Regions from separate parts of the Homo sapiens genome. Here regions 2, 3, 4 and 5 are each linked to region 1. Evidence: promoter capture Hi-C in 16 types of primary human blood cells and fetal thymus (Javierre and others, 2016). All regions are on one chromosome and are shown on one strand. Each heading gives the region's core, a stretch centred on a gene start or on the middle of the fragment in contact. The rest is flanking DNA. Distances are from core to core; before and after follow the strand shown. Region 1 holds the start of EDAR (ectodysplasin A receptor). Region 2 overlaps SEPTIN10 (septin 10). Region 3 has its middle 88 kb from the start of SEPTIN10. Region 4 has its middle 100 kb from the start of SEPTIN10. Region 5 holds the start of SOWAHC (sosondowah ankyrin repeat domain family member C).

Region 1 (2,943 bases), core at 210-2,709:
GAATTAGTCCTTTACAGTCTAGGTCCTTGCCCCAGCCCCATACATTTCTGTCTGCTTTTTTCTTTTCTTTTCTTTTCTGTTTTGAGACAGATTCTCGCTCTGTTGCCCAGGCTGGAGTGCAGTGGCACAATCTCGGCTCACTGCAACTTCCATCTCCTGGGTTCGAACAATTCTCCTGCTTTAGCCTCCACACATGCCACCACCGGCTAATTTTTGTATATTTTTTTTTTTTTTTTTTTTTGAGACGGAGTCTCGCTCTGTCACCCAGGCCGGACTGCGGACTGCAGTGGCGCAATCTCGGCTCACTGCAAGCTCCGCTTCCCGGGTTCACGCCATTCTCCTGCCTCAGCCTCCCGAGTAGCTGGGACTACAGGCGCCCGCCACCACGCCCGGCTAATTTTTTGTATTTTTAGTAGAGACGGGGTTTCACCTTGTTAGCCAGGATGGTCTCGATCTCCTGACCTCATGATCCACCCGCCTCGGCCTCCCAAAGTGCTGGGATTACAGGCGTGAGCCACCGCGCCCGGCCTAATTTTTGTATTTTTAGTAGGGACGGAGTTTCACCATGTTGGCCAGGCTGATCCCAAACTCCTGACCTCAAGTGATCTGCCCGCCTCAGCCTCCAAAGTGCTGGGGTTACAGGTGTGAGCCACGGAGCCCAGACTGTTTCTTTCTTAAGCTCTTACTTTCTCATGTGTGAGTTACCTTGTAGGTTTCCAAGGCAGAGGGGACAAGATGGAAAAGGAGAACACAGAAATCTAGCCTGGAGGAGCTGCTCTGTTCCTGTATTTATCTGTGTAGGTGTGAATGAGGGAGAAAATGACAAGAGAATGACATTATTTTAAGGCTGTTTTCCCCCCCCCAATCATTTACTTTTTGAGAAATAATTGCCCAATACTGAAAGGTATGTCCTTTCAAAATGTTGATGTTTCAAATGGCTTCCTAATTACCTAGTTATACGGGGGGTGTGTATGGTTATCTGAAGTTACATGGGTATACACTGGTGGTGTGAGGTGTCCAGAGAGAGGAAAGGAAGAGCAGTCCTGGTGGCTCAAACCCTGAGGGATGTGCGGGGGATGGGTGAGAATGTGAACAGACATGTTGGAAGCTGAATCCGTGCAGTGGCACCCATGCCTGTAGCCATCTCAGTGGGGGGTCCTTCTACGAACAAGCTTTGATTAATGATATTTTAATGCTAGTTTAGCTTTTTAGCACTCCCACGCCTAAAGGCTCTGATAGAAGCAAGGCCCCCACCCCTGCAAAAAAAAAAATCCATGATTTTTACGCATTCCAACAGATCTCTTAAGGGGCAGACGGCCGGAGAGCCAGGTGTGCCAGGGACCTATGGCAGCAGGGCTGAACGTGCCCGCTCCAGCCTCTCCAGTGCTGGGAGAGACCTCTAGATGGTGCAGGTGAGTTTGCAATGAGGGAAAGCCCCTCGGCAAGGACTGAGTTTCCAAACTTGCAGACAGGGCAGGGAGCGGTCAAGGAAGAGTTCCCGGGAAGCCCTTTAAACGGAAAGGAAGCGGGGCTAGTGTCAGAGAGGTGTGCCAGGTCCCAGGCAGCCCTGCTGGCCCCTAAGGACATAGAGTACCTGCTTCTGAGAGGGCTGCCACGGTGGCCACCTGTGAAGCCTGTCACCCAGAACTGGATGGTACCTGACTTTCTTCATAGACCCATCTTCTGCTGGGACTGAAGCTGACCTCCAACAGAAGCCAGGTAAGCCCTGGTCCTTTCCTCTGGTTTTCTAAACTCTTCAGCTGTGGCCGAGACGGAGGTGTCATGGGCTGGGAGAGAGGCTGGGTGCATTTTTGAAATGCATGTCATTTTTGGGTTGCGTTTGAACAAGCTTTACCGATTGCAGTATGTCTGCGCTACCAGTTCTAAGACCTGAGATTGTTCCTTTGTTTTAGAAAAACATCAGAAACCCTGTTTTGCTGTTGGTTGCACATTTGGTTAGGGAGACAAATTCTGTGTGTGCTTCACAGGCTTTAAGATTTGGGCTACTGAAGCAACGGGTTCCTCCAGGGAGCGTGAAAAGTATGTTTCTCAGGTTTGCCCCTGTGCCCGGCTCACTGGGGAAGGCAGGCGCGGCAGGGACTCTAGCTGGGCTCTGTACCTGCCTCCAACTCTGCGTACCCGCTGTGACCTAAGAGACCTTCCAAGTGGGGTTTCCAGTCGTGTCTGAGACCCCCCATATCCTGGCCTCTGTGTTGGTGGCGGGGGAGCGGGGAGAGGGAGAGAAGGAGGGGAGTGGGTACCTATTTGTGATGATTGAGGTTTTCATTTCCAGCCAAGAGGTTCCTCTCAACACTCTGACAGACCGTGGGGTGGGTTGGGCTCCTAGACAGGAGTCGGCTCTGATTCAGTCGGCTCTGATTCCCAGCCTCCTGCAGCAGCCAAGCTTTGAGATGTCAGCTCAGGGAGAAGCGGGTGGCTGGGCAGGGAGGTCAGCAGGCGAGGTTCCCACTGGGTTTCCCTGCCCATGTTGTGCTGGGTCAGCAACAAGAGGGACAGTTAAAATCAACAAGCAGGGCAGATGCCGGTCAGTGGGCAATCCCACACAGCCAGGGGTACACGCATGTGAGGAGACGTACGGAGAGACAGGAGCACCACCGTCCTCTTCCCCAGTCCCCAGGCCACTGCTCTGTGGCTCTCAAGTGGCATTTTTGAGACACTTTCTAAGCAAGAGTGAAAGTGTAACAAAGAAGTGAAGAGCCATAATAGACTGAAGGAAAAAAGGGATCCAGGCATCTAAAATAGAGAATGTTTCTTGCCTGGCTTAATACTCTGAGATTTGTAAGTCATAGCCACTTAAAACCTTTAAAGATACATTTTGACAGAGGCCACCAAAAAGAGAGTGACTCTGGTCAAGGCTTGGAAATAAGCGTTCGTTCCGATGACAGTCCACGTGTACCCTTCACGGCTGGGAAAGTTTGGCGA
Region 2 (3,117 bases), core at 502-3,001, 560 kb before region 1:
GTTAGAGGGCACAGCACACAGCTGATTCCTATGGAGCTGGCTTAAGACCCTAGTTTTTTTTTTTTTTGAGGTAAGCCACAATTAAACCAGGTCCACCTACATTCTCCTTGGACCTTGTCTCTCTGAACTGCATGCAGAACTTCACATAACTTTCATCTGTATTTCCTCTCATTACTAGTTCTTCTACATCTTTTAGAATTCTTTTATGAGCAGTATTGTGTGCTGTGCTGGGGGTATAAAAATGAAAAAGACATAGCTCCTAAGTAATCCTCAGGGAGACGTTGCTCCCACAGTTACCCCAGCACATGTGTGCTAAGGGTTTCTCTTTTGCACCTGTAACAGAGCACAGGACACAGAAAGAACTACCCAGGGTGGCAGCTGGAGCAAGCTGAGTTTCCTATTTTTTGTTATTAACAATGGCTAATATTTATCGAGTGCTTACTCAGTGCCAGCCATCATGGTAAAAACGTTAGATAGATGTTTTCTTTTGGTATATCCCAGTTGTTTTAAAGCTTCCTTTTTATTTGTAAGTTTCCAGAGTTTTATGCCCTTCATAGCTTTGAGAAATATGCCTTCTATGATCCATATAGGGCATTCCTTAAATTGTGGAACAAAATAAATTAAAAGGCCTGCCCCAAAATTGACATCTAAGGTGACATTGCTCCCTTTATATGGTTTATCAAGATGATTTTCAGCCCCAAGGAGGTGAAAAACTGCTGAATTGTATTCTTTAAATAATTTTTTCTTCTGCTTTTTTCACTTAAGAGAAATCTCTTGAAACTCATTTAACAGTTGTATACGGGAAGAATAACCCCTATAGGTTCTTATTGGAATGACCCCTTATTTTCAGATTAACCAAAAAAAAAAAAAAAAAACAAGTTTATTAGCATGTATATTTCACATATACAGGGGTGATACAGTCAATGAGTAGTTCTCAAAGAGGCGACTGCATTCTACCTTCTATAGCATCTTCAACAAAGAACAGTTAATTTTTACAGAAATGACAAGACAAAGGAAAAGGACTTGGAGTCTCTAGAGGCAGCAACTTGGAGGAAGGCACATAGCTGGCAGATGAAGGCTAGTCAGTAAAGCTAGTTAATGTAGAGCTGTCTGGTACCAGTCTCCAGGCCCAAAAGGGTCTGAAGTTGTCTTTGGTGGTTAACCTTTGTTCTCCCTGGTTGGGGAAGGGGGCTGGATACCTTTTTTCTTTGTACATCTGTATCCTGCCTTTAGGCGCCTAAAGGGAGGTCAGAGAGCTTTCCTGTATCTGCTGCTTCTTAGTTGCCCTCAGCTCAACAGTCCTGCACATTCTGCTCTCCTACAGCTGCATCAAATGTATTTAGCATTAATTTATTCTTTATCTTTATTGGCTATGTAGGCAATGTTTTTCCTATTATAGTGTAAATTCTACTATGATGAGTATTTTTATATGTAAAGCTTTCTCTGAATTTAGGATTTTTTTAAGCCTAGATCTCAGGACATTGAAAGACTATGGAAAAATAGAATACAGTTTTAACATTCTTGACATAGTTGACAATTGACACTTGCTTTCCAGTGATGTTTACTAGTACAGTTTTCAATAACTGTTTACTGCATATATTTTATTTGGAAAATAGTGTTGTTGTTTTTTTCCTTTCTGGTAATTTCTTTCTATACTTTGCATCTCTTATTTTTATTGAGCATGGACTTGAGAGACTTTAAGAAGTTTTGTAGGGAAAATACACACCGAGAAAATAAAAACTCTAGGAAAAGTTCACAATGTTTTAAAAATAGTTTTGTACATAAAGCTATGATTTTTGCATGGGAACTCATTTAAATTAAAGTTACCAAGGGAATTCCATATGTAAACTTTTCCTTGAACTATGAACTTCTGAGACTTCAGAAAGATTTTGACTGTGTAGGTTATTCTGTGTTGCGCTATGGGGTCCGCCTTTGTGTTGCTGAGCTGGAGAGCGTGCCTCTGCTGCCGCGCTGTGTCAGTAGTGGGGATTGCACTTTTGTTTCCAGCTACAGGCCAAATTTGAGCACCTTAAGAGACTTCACCAAGAAGAGAGAATGAAGCTTGAAGAAAAGAGAAGACTTTTGGAAGAAGAAATAATTGCTTTCTCTAAAAAGAAAGCTACCTCCGAGATATTTCACAGCCAGTCCTTTCTGGCAACAGGCAGCAACCTGAGGAAGGACAAGGACCGTAAGAAGTAAGAGGCCCAGCCACCCTCCCTGGCAGCCCTGCCCACACTTGTCACATTGCCCTGTCGGATCTTCCTAGCGCTTCTTACTTCTGCTTCCTTATGCTTTGTCTTCCTTCTCCAACTAAATGTCAGCTCCTGGAGAGGAGAGACCTTGTCCCTCTTGTTCACTGCTGTTTCCCCAGCATCCAGAACAGCACCTGGCACATGTTATGTGTTCAGTATTTGCCAAAATGAATGAATGAACAAAATAAAAATACATCACAGTGTGAAAAGGATCAGTTAGCTGGGGGAAAATGGCTGCTCTTATTGAATAGCCCAGCCGTGGCCCTAGTACACAGCTAATGGCTGCTGACCTACCATGAGTTATTTTGAATTTCATGTCTAAATAAAGCTGTGCCCTTTGTTGGGGAATTATAGACATAAGATAGTATTTTATTGAATTAATTCTTAGGTTCAGTTTTTTAGAACAAATTCTACTGATACTGATTTTGTGAGAATTTTTATTTTAATAAGGGAACCAGGCTGTCGATTCGAACTCCTGTGCATTGATGTCAGAGCTTGTGAAACCAATGGTGGACGTAAAGACGCAGAGAAAGGTAGAGAGGGCCACAGTGCAAGGGGGCAGCCATGAGTAGCATGTGGATGATAATCGCAAGGCGTGTAGGTTTGGGGTATGTGTTAAAATCAGTTACCCAAGTTTTAGAAAATAAGTTTATTTTTCCTTTTTGATAATTTCCTTCTGTACTTTGTGTCCCTTGTTTTATTTCTCCCACTTAAGTATCCCTGTCGGTTTAACTATTTGGCTCTTGAGGAAATTCATCATGCCTTGTTCTATTCAGAATGCTCATTTGGGGGACTCTGCCTCAGTTTACTCTAGCTACCTCTGTGCTAGCAGCGTTGCATGCTCCCATGTTCCCCACAGAGCAAC
Region 3 (3,058 bases), core at 17-2,516, 540 kb before region 1:
TGTAAACATTTGTAGGTATGTGTATTTGTGCACGTGTGTGTGTGTAGGGTCATCTGGTAGCTATTGTAAAAATCCATTATTTCTATAAGCTAAATTAAGACATTTAATTGGTCAAGCACAATTTGTCAAGTGTGAGCTTTATGGCAAGCACTATCCTCATTAGACACTACACCAAGTCCTTGTGCATACCCAGCCCCCACGCAGGCAGGCTCGAGCCTCGTGCTAGAGTCGAACATGTGCTGGCTGAGGCAGACACATCTCTGAGAACACATTTGTAGGCCATCAGAGAGGGTCTCCTAGAGAGGAAGCAGCCCACCAGAGGGTTGAATAGGAATTCACCAGGCTGAGGTGGTCCCAGGCAAGGGTGGAGAGAGGGTGCATCTGGGGACCCAAGAGCCGGGGAGAATATCAATTGCAGCTGTCATCGGTGAGCCCCCTGTGCCAGAGTGCATGGCAGACACATCCGTGCACTTCCTCCCACCCTTGGGCCTCCAGAAAGTCTGCTTTCTGGTGTCATTCAAAGAGGAGGTGAGCCGGGCGTGGTGGCTCACACCTGTAATCCGAGCACTTTGGGAGACCAAGGCAGGTGGATCACTTGAGGTCAGGAGTTCGACACCAGCCTGGCTAACATGGCAAAACCCTGCCTCTACTAAAAATACAAAAATAAATAAGGCATGGTGGCACATGCCTGTAGTCCCAGCTAACTACTTGGAAGGCTGAGGCACGAGAATTGCTTGAACCCCAGAGGTGGAGGTTGCAGCGAGCTGAGATCAGACCACTGCACTCCAGCTTGGGCGACAGAATGAGACTCCATCTCAAAAAAATAAAAAATAAAAAGGAGGTGAGAGTGGCTCAGAGAGGCTGGTGCCTTGCCCAGGGCCACAGGCAACAGCAGGCAGCCCTGGGCTTAAACCCAAGAAAGGAAGCCTGTGCCTCGAATTTGAGGTCTCAGAGGGTGGCAGATGAGCTTTCCTGAGAGACAAAAGAGGGAAATAGCATCTGTGAAAAGACATAAGGAACTTAGTCTGGTGCTTACTGTGCCCTGATTCCTGGTCACCTGTGGGCGTGTGTCAGGGGCCCTGATGGTGACTGGTTGTGGTGGCTCTGGTGCTCGGGATTGCGAGCAGCTCCAGAACCTGGGTGACACCACCTCCCCACTCACTGGGCCACAGTGGGCTGCAGAGACTGTTAATGCTGAGGCTTCTGAGCTGGGAAAATTAGCAATAGCAGCACAAAGAAAATTACCCTCCATCTGCTTCCAATGACAATGGTAGGACCAGAGAGATCCCAAAACCTGAACAGAGGAGGAAACTCGGAGCCACATCCAGGACAGGCCTCCAGCAGGTAGGAAGTGCAAGTAGGAAACGCATCAATGATTTAGGGAGGAGGCTGCTTTTGCTAGTAAGGACAGTGGCCAGAGGGCCACTGAGAGCCTCCTCTCTGGCATCTTACAACAAATGGGCACCGAGCAGGTTGTCCTGAGCTACCCTGATGGTGACCAAGTTGTTGTCCAGGAATGTTTCCATCCTGCCCTGAATGCCGGGTGCTGGACCTCCTCATGGCTGCAGTGCCCTGGGGTTCACGTCACCAGCCCACCACTTTGTGGTTGGCGTCAGCTCGGGGAGTGTAGGCCTGTGGGGCTCCGGCTGGTGAGGGTGCAGGTAACTAGCACTTTCAGCCCTCAGGCATGGTGGCTCATGCCTGTAATCCCAGCACTTTGGGAGGCCAAGGTGGGCAGATCATTTGAGGTCAGGAGTTCGAGACCAGCCTGGCCAAGATGGTGAAAACCTGTCTCTATTTCTTGTAAAAATTCAAAAAAAATTAGCTGGGCGTGGTGGCACATGCCTGTAGTCCCAGCTACTCAGGAGGCTGAGGCAGAAGAATCTCTCGAACCCGGGAGGCAGAGGTTGCAGTGAGCCAAGACCGCGTCACTGCACTCCAGCCTGGGTGACAGAGTGAGACTCTGTCTCAAAAACCAAACAAAAAACAAAAACAAAAACAAAAATGATGTCAAGGGATATTTGCTGAAGCCTCATCCATAACCACAAAAAAAAAAAAAAAAACAACGGTAAGGAGCCTAAATGCCCACCATGGGAAAGTGTTGAACTAGTCTGTGATGTGGGGACAGCAGGCAGCTGCAGAAGCACTGAGTGAAGATGCAGAGGACGGATGAATCCTGACCCTGCTGAAAGGAACATAACTGAAGATCTGCGCCGAGGAGGAACCCAGGGCTTGGGAATTCCATGTGCCATTTGTTTCCTTCTTGATTCTTTTCCCTTCTTTTCTATATATTCTATAATTAGGACTTTCTCATTTAGAAACCCTTAAAAATTTAAAAATGGAAGGCCTTTTTAGATTTTTTAATTTTAATTTTTATTTATTTATTTATATATTTTTTGAGATGGAGTCTTTCTCTGTCACCCAGGATGGAGTGCAGTGGCGCGATCTCAGCTCACTGCAACCTCTGCCTCCCAGGTTCAAGAGATTCTCCTGCCTCAGCTGGAATTACAGGCATGCTCCACCACGCCTGGCTAATTTCTGTATTTTTAGTAGAGACAGGGTTTCACCATGTTGGCCAGGCTGGTCTCGAACTCCTAGCCTCAAGTAATCTGCCTACCTCGGCCTCCCAAAGCGCTGGGATTACAGGCGTGAGCCATCGCGCCCAGTGTTGTTTTGTTTTTTTTTTTTTTTTTTTTTTGAGACAGGGTCCCACTCTGTCACCCTAAGATCCCTAGCAGGAGCTGATATTCACAGAGCGTGTTATGGCTGCTTCACTCCGGCTTTCACACACATGATCTCATTCAAATCCCCATGTCATGAGAAGGTGACAGTGGGCAGCGTGTGACCACTGAGCCGTCCTTACAGTGGATGGAGGTCAGAGAACTGCCCTCTGAGCCCCAGGTCCTCCCTACCAGCTAGAGCCTTTGGACAAGCTGTGTGGCTTCCCTGAGCCTGAGTTTTTATTTGTGCAATGGAGGGAGTGTCCTGCTCTTGCGCCACTAGGCCCTGACCTTATGCATGATGTGCAGAACGGAGGCCCACGGAGTCCCAGTGAGGC
Region 4 (3,318 bases), core at 46-2,545, 520 kb before region 1:
TTGTTGGGAAGGGGCTGTGGGTGCTCAGAGCCCCTGGTCCCGGCTAGGAACAGAAATGAAGCCCTGGACCCCATCAGCCCTCTGGGCTGCAGAGGGTGAGGATGGAACCGGGGTTCCTTCAGTCTGGTAGTCACTGCACAAATGTGAGAAGAGCTACCTCGGGGTTTCCCTCTAGGACATGTGGAAGGCTTCCCCTCGGCCTCCACATCGGACTGACTTGTCAAAGGACCCTCGGGGCTGTCTGCTCCCCCACATGCCCTCACCGCCCCCTTGGCAGAGACGCCTTGCCCTTTGCCCAGCATCTGCTGTGCCAGCTTCCCACATTCATACGAGCCATTCCCTGTGCCACCAACAGAGGGAGCTCCCGACACAGTTTGCATCTAAACACCCCTTGAGAGCCCAGGAAACACTGCCTCCTGCTTCTGGCCTGGAAGGCTCAGAGACCTACCCCTGGCCATTCTCACCTCAGCCCTCTCCTCCACACCTGCTCTGGGCTCCCTCAGTTTCTTGATCCTGCCAAGCTCTCCCCAGCCTCGGGTTGGGGTGTGCACACACACCGTTCCCGCCAACCGAACATTCTTTCCCCTCTTCCTGCCTTGTGAATTTCTAAACAAGACTACAGTGTGGAGGTCCAGATAAGACCCGGACACCCTCTAAGTGGCCCTCCATGCCCCTCACCTCTCCAACTAGATAAGAGTTTCCTGCGATCCCTTAGTACTTTGCCCTATAGTATTTGCCCGGTAGCTATCGCCTAGTTATTTTGATTAATTTAACTTTTGACTTCATTATGACCTGGTCTCCATGAGCACAGGCACATGGGCTGAATTATGTTCCCCGAAAATTCATATGTTGAAGTCCTAGCCCCCAGTGCCTCAGCGTGTGTCTCTGCTTGGAGATTAAATTAAAATGAGTCCATTGGTGGGCCTAATCTGGCCTGACTGGTGTCCTTGTGAGAAGGGTGAGGGTGCAGGGGGTGGAGGATGAGAAATTGCTTAAAGGGGACATGTCATGTATGTTATTCGGGTGATGGATACACTAAAACTCCTGACTTGACCACTATGGCATGTAACAAAATTGCACCCCATAAATTTACACAAATTCATTTTAAAAAGAAGAGGAACACTGGATACAGACGCACAGAGATGAATCCGGGCAAGACGACCCGCCACAGCTGCTTGACAGAGTGAGGAGACGGCGGTGTGCAAGCCGAGGAGAGAGGTCTCAGAGGAAACCAACCCTGCTGCAACTTCAACCTTGGACTTCCAGCCTCCAGCACTTTGAGAGAATATATTTCTGTTGTTTCAGCCACGCAGTGCATGGTATTTTGATATGGCAGCCTAAGTGACTGATACAGGCACGTGGGTTTGCACACTTCTTTCCATAGCACCAAACACCGCATAATCTGACAGGCGGCTGGGCCCCACCAGGCAGACCTCCAGGAAGGCCTGAATACATGAGGTGGGTCCTCTTGCCTGGATTCATCTCCGTGACCCTGGTGCTGGGCCCAGAGCAGAAGTAGCTGTTGAATGAATGAGTAGAGTGGGAAGGGGTGGAGAGAAGATGCCCAGACCCAGGCAAGTCCTGTGTGACCCTGACGGATGGGCACTTCCTTCCATTTCTCCCGGCAGGAATGGGTAAGCTGGTTGTGAGCTCCTTGACTCATGTGCTGGTGTTGTGTATTCTTGCCAAGAACGTCCAGAGGAAGCGCTCTGGGACCCATCATGGAGTGGACTGCATCCCCCCGTCCCGGGCTTGTAGCGCCTTTGCTCCTCAGGCACAGACTGCCGAGTCCATGACTACCCACACGGCTTGCCTTCCTCTCCAGATGTGAACTCTGGCTGGGGTGGGCAGCTGTGTCTCTCCTTTCATGCCTTATCTGGGGTGCCCTGTCTGAGCACTTACATTCATCTGTGACTGCTCACTGATCTGATAAGTGAGTGGGTGAAGCCAGGCCATCGAGGGGTGTGGTGAGTGGGTGTCCCATGTGACACTTCCTGGCTGTCTCCAGGCTTTCATCTGCTTCCATTTTTTTTTTTTGGAACATTACAGAACGTTACTTTTTCCAAATAAAGAGTTCTTTCTTCACATTTGTAATGATGTCCACGTCTGTTGACGTTTCCTCTGGGACTTCTTTTAGATCCAGTTTTTATATCTCATTTTCCTAAATATGGTATGGTGGCCCTCGGAAGACGCGTGCTTTTGCACAGTGCCATGGGGTTCCAGGGCAATGTCCTGGAGGAGCGGCCCTGGGGAGTGTGCGTCTGCAGTTTTTGTCTGCCCGGTCATGAGCTCCTTTTGTTTTTGCCAATAGCTCTACGTGTATCTTCTCACCCCCACTCTCAATCCATGAAGTCTGGGCAGGGCTGACACCTCAGGCGCTATCAATCAGTATATACATGTCCCCTGTCCAAAATGGCTGAGTCAGGGAGGGCAGCACGGGCCCAAACGGAGCCAGTGAGAGTCAATGCCAGGGTTTTGGCTGGGCCCATGGAGAAGGAGCAGGCCTATTTTTGCAGGGATGGGGAAGGTGTCAGATGGCACCCTGAACCTGCTGGTCCTCATTGTGCTGTAAGATGGGGAAATCTGCTGAGGAAGGAGCCACGTGGAGGGCAGCAGAGCCCAGCAATACCCACAAACGTCATGTGAGCACCTGGACCCAGCTATGCCTGAAGCAAACTCATCTACACCAGCGTTTCTTAGTGAACCCACCACTCTTGGCATTTGGGACAGGACAGGCTTTGCCCACGTGGGACGATTGTACACATTGCAAGATATCCCACATCCCTAGGTCCAGCAGAATGCCAAGTGTCCTCATGGAACACCAGCCCCATCATTTGCACACGTCTGATTGTCTGCCCTCAGCTTTTCAGTTGAGTCAAGAAGTCCTCTTTTGACTTATTCCAGTTGGTTTTTGGGGCAGGTTCAAATGATGGGCCCTGGACAAACAGCTGCTGCCATTTTCTTGGGTGTCTGGGATTTAACCCTTACCATGTTAAACACCAGCTGACCCTGGTGTGGCTTTAGGGCCGAGCCCAGGATTTTCACTGAGGGAGGGGTCAAGTTCTGGAGCCACAGGCTGGGTAGCACAGGCTCCTATCACTGTGGGAAGATGGAGACCACTGCTTCTGGTGCTGGAGGAGAGCACAGAGAGGACAGTCAGCAGAACTCAGCCAGCCTCAGATGCTGGGACCACAGGCGGAACAGAAGCAGGGCTCCAACAGCTCACAGGCCCCAGATGTTTCCCTTGTGGTCAGCTGAATGTGATCTTCTTTGAGAAGTGAAGGGAACCCCCTGGAAGGGTGACATGAAACAGAAGGG
Region 5 (3,037 bases), core at 511-3,010, 630 kb before region 1:
TAGTATTCAATTTATTAAGACAAATAAACCTTTGCATTTTCTAAAAGAAGCAATTTTTACCCAAATACATTGGACTTTGGTCTCAATGTGAAGGGCGAGTGGCCTTTAACAGGTCGTTCCTCCCCCACTCCCTCCTCCCCCCTGCCCTCCAGCGGCTGCTCTGGGTCCCTGAAAGAGGGTGTGGTGTGGACGATCTGGGTTCTGAATCGGATTTTGTTGAGTCTGGGTTTTATACGTCCACTAGAGCTGCCCGAGGCTTTGCGCCCTGGATCCTTGGCTTTGCCTCCGACCCACCCCTCAGCCGAGTGGTGATGGTGGTGATGGTCCCCTCCATCTTCTAGGGCGTGTGAGAGTTTGTAGGTGATGAGATGCGAGGGAAGCACCTTTGAAAGCCTCCAGCGCCCGCCGCCGCTACCCGCGGCGCTTTCCCCGTCACCCTCGTCCAGGGCTCCCACCAGGTTCTTGATCTCCTCGGCGATGCTCCGACTCAGGTACTGGGAGGCCTTTTTCCCACTGTAGTCCCTGATGTCCACATCGGCGTCGTAGGCCCCCACCAGCAGCTTCACCACCTCCACGTGGCCGTGCATGGCTGCCAAGTGCAGGGCGGTGTAACCCCCGCTCGTCCTGGCGTCGATGTTCACCGGCAGCTGGTGTTTGTTGGCGAAGTTGACTAGCATGGCCAGAAGCTCCTGCCTGCCGTGCTTGGCGGCCCAGTGCAGGCAAGTGAAGCCGGTAATGAAGTCCCGCTTGACCAGCAGGCCGGGCTCGCAGGTGAGCAAGCCCTCCAGGCTGTCCCACTTGCCATCGGAGGCAGAGAGCATCCACGCGTGCTCCAGGGGGTCCAGCGTCACGGAGCCTCCGCCGCTGCTCTCCTCCTCCGCGGACGACGAGGCCACCGATGCGCTGTCTGAGTCGCCCCCGCCTCTGCCGCGTCCTCCCCCGGAGGAGCTGCCCGGGCTGCTGCCCCCGGGACACACGCTCCTCTTCAGCTGCGGGGAGCTGCCCATCACCAGGTCACGGAGGTTCTGGCGGGCCGGCCTCTGTGCGGTAGCCCCCACAAGGGAGCTGCCCCTGTCCGCCTCCTCGCAGCCATGTGGCGGGAGCTCCAGGTCCTCGCTGGGCCCCGGGGCTGGAGTCCGCGGTAGGGGCTGCACGTCGCGCCGCGAGTTCTTCCTGCGAGCCCCGGCGCTCAGGGGCGGCCAGTGCGCGGGGGCGGGGGGCTCTCCCTCGCCCAGCTCGCGGCCCTGTCCAGGGAGCGACTCCGGGGCCGCCGCGTCGGGGAGCCGATCGCGCGCCTCGGGCCCGGCAGGGCCGTCGGGGGCCTCGGGCTCGGCGGTCACCTGGATTCGCGGCGGGTCCCCGGAGGGCTCGGACGGCCCTTCACAGAACCTCTTCTTGAGGTGCACGTACTTGGCGCCGTCGGCGGGATCGACGCGCACAGTGGCCACGGCGTTCACCAGCTCCTTGAAGTGCGCGCGGGCGCGGGCGCGCTGCTCCGGTTCGCCGCCTAGGGCGCCCCTGAAGTGCTGCACCAGCTCGGCGTGCAGGGCCCGGCCCCCGCGCTCCGCCAGGAAGCGCAGCACCGCCTCGGGGCCCAGCGCCGCCTCGGGGCCCCACTCTGCCGGCCCCTCCATCCTCGACCGCGCTGCTCCCCCGCCAGCGGGCGGCTCAGCGCGGTCCCATAGCGACGGGCTCCCAGCGGCCGGCTCCCGACGGCGGCGGAGTCTGGCGGGCTCAGCGGGCTGCCAGCCTACGCGTCTGAGGCCAGAGGACTCGGCCACCGCCTCACTGGGCCGCGCCCGGGCGGACACGCCCCCCGCACCCCCGCCCCGCGCCCACGCCACCAGGCCACGCCCACTTCCGCTCCCCGCTGTCTCGGCCACACCTACCTAGGGCGGCCTCGCCTCAAGGCCCGCCCACTTCCGGCCTCGCGAGGGCCGCAATCACTGCTCCGCAGTTCCCGCCTGCATTCCTCGCGCCGTCTTCCTGGAGTCCCAGCTCTCCTTCAGCCCGCCCCAACGCTGACGCTCAGTCCTCAGGCGTCGAGGGTAGCTCCTGTGAGGGGCTCGCTTGGCGCAGGCAAAACGCTCAGCGCGCACCACAGGGCGTCCGCCCCAACCCCGCCCCCGGAGGCCTCCAGCTCGGCCCCGCCCCTGTCCCTTCCCCGTCGCGGAGGCAGCCTAGCCTCGCGCCCCGCCCGTTGCTTCTGCCCTCCGGCCTTCCCGCCGCCGTCGCCGGGACCAGCCGCTCGGGGCCGGGCTGATACAGCCGCTTCACCGTGCCCCTGCCCGCGACCATGGCCTCCTCCGAGGTGGCGCGGCACCTGGTGAGTCCCGCCGACGCCGGGGCCCCAGCCCCGCGCTCCCCGGCCCCCGCGGGACTTCCCGCCCTCGACCCACCGGCCCCCTGGTCCGGCCCGGGATTGTGACCCGCGCCCCCTCCGGCCCCGCCCGCCCAGTGCTCCCCGGCTTCCGCGGCGGCCGGGCGCCTGGGGCGGGAGAGGAGCCTCTGCGGAGCCTGGGCGCGGCCGGACCCCGGTTCGCGGGGCGCGGCGCCAGCGTCGGGACGGTGGGAGAGTTCTTGAACGACTTCCCGGTCTTTGCCAAAAGTTACATCCACAGCGGTGTTTGTGGGTCTCTTACGGCTATAACGGAGTTGAAGGCGCAGTGCGGACTGATTGAATAGCGGTCATCTTTTGCAGCCGTGAGCACTTCCGAGCCTCCCTGCCGCCGGGAGAAAGCCCGGCTCCCCTGGCTTTTCAAAAGCTCTCCCGTTTTATCCGATGGTGTGGTCGTCCAAGTTTTCCTCCATTGGGATTTTAAACCGTTTTTTTCCCGCCTTGACTCTTTTGTACTCTAAAAGAACGCGTTTGTTCACTGTTTTGAACCTTTCCAGTTACTTTTGTAGATTTATCTCGCTTGTTAGTAAGCCAGCGGTTTTCCAAGTGTGGTTACAACTATTTTCGTTAATAGTACCAAGGTCGTGTACATCGAGTTTTCCAAAGGCTACATGGTATGGAGTGATCTCACCGCCGTTT

Evidence for each region. Contacts are between HindIII fragments. The CHiCAGO score rates a contact against its expected background, and 5 or more counts as called.
Region 2: a contact is called between a fragment that was not itself captured here and the fragment with the promoter of EDAR in region 1, in 4 of 17 cell types (naive CD4 T cells, M2 macrophages, M0 macrophages and 1 more). The highest score is 6.1, in naive CD4 T cells.
Region 3: a contact is called between a fragment that was not itself captured here and the fragment with the promoter of EDAR in region 1, in 8 of 17 cell types (non-activated CD4 T cells, M0 macrophages, naive CD4 T cells and 5 more). The highest score is 10.1, in non-activated CD4 T cells.
Region 4: a fragment that was not itself captured here is called in contact with the fragment with the promoter of EDAR in region 1 in 15 of 17 cell types (naive CD4 T cells, non-activated CD4 T cells, total CD4 T cells and 12 more); the score reaches 33.5 in naive CD4 T cells.
Region 5: the fragment with the promoter of SOWAHC here is called in contact with the fragment with the promoter of EDAR in region 1 in 8 of 17 cell types (naive CD4 T cells, fetal thymus, non-activated CD4 T cells and 5 more); the score reaches 10.2 in naive CD4 T cells.

The regions. Positions count from the first base shown.
Region 1 is chr2:108,987,736-108,990,678 of GRCh38, reverse strand. It overlaps EDAR (ectodysplasin A receptor), which reads left to right and starts at 1,459. Exons shown (of 12, transcript NM_022336.4): 1 at 1,459-1,719. It also overlaps a transcript of RANBP2 not described here. RefSeq lists an enhancer at 2,485-2,943. The HindIII fragment of the contact is 677 bases long and covers 1,175-1,851 here.
Region 2 is chr2:109,545,128-109,548,244 of GRCh38, reverse strand. It overlaps SEPTIN10 (septin 10), which reads left to right. Exons shown (of 11, transcript NM_144710.5): 10 at 2,008-2,195. It also overlaps a transcript of RANBP2 not described here. Among named protein-coding and RNA genes, the nearest start is that of SEPTIN10, 67 kb to the left of the region's middle. The HindIII fragment of the contact is 624 bases long and covers 1,440-2,063 here.
Region 3 is chr2:109,524,085-109,527,142 of GRCh38, reverse strand. It overlaps a transcript of RANBP2 not described here. Among named protein-coding and RNA genes, the nearest start is that of SEPTIN10, 88 kb to the left of the region's middle. The HindIII fragment of the contact is 6,274 bases long and covers 1-3,058 here.
Region 4 is chr2:109,507,348-109,510,665 of GRCh38, reverse strand. It overlaps a transcript of RANBP2 not described here. Among named protein-coding and RNA genes, the nearest start is that of SEPTIN10, 100 kb to the left of the region's middle. RefSeq lists an enhancer at 3,064-3,173. The HindIII fragment of the contact is 5,398 bases long and covers 1-3,318 here.
Region 5 is chr2:109,613,087-109,616,123 of GRCh38, reverse strand. It overlaps SOWAHC (sosondowah ankyrin repeat domain family member C), which reads right to left and starts at 1,760. Exons shown (of 1, transcript NM_023016.4): 1 at 1-1,760. The coding sequence starts at 1,634. The coding sequence ends at 57. It overlaps SEPTIN10 (septin 10), which reads left to right and starts at 2,158. Exons shown (of 11, transcript NM_144710.5): 1 at 2,158-2,326. The coding sequence starts at 2,297. It also overlaps a transcript of RANBP2 not described here. RefSeq lists silencers at 1,707-1,876, 2,137-2,386, 2,417-2,506 and an enhancer at 2,359-3,037. The HindIII fragment of the contact is 4,568 bases long and covers 1-3,037 here.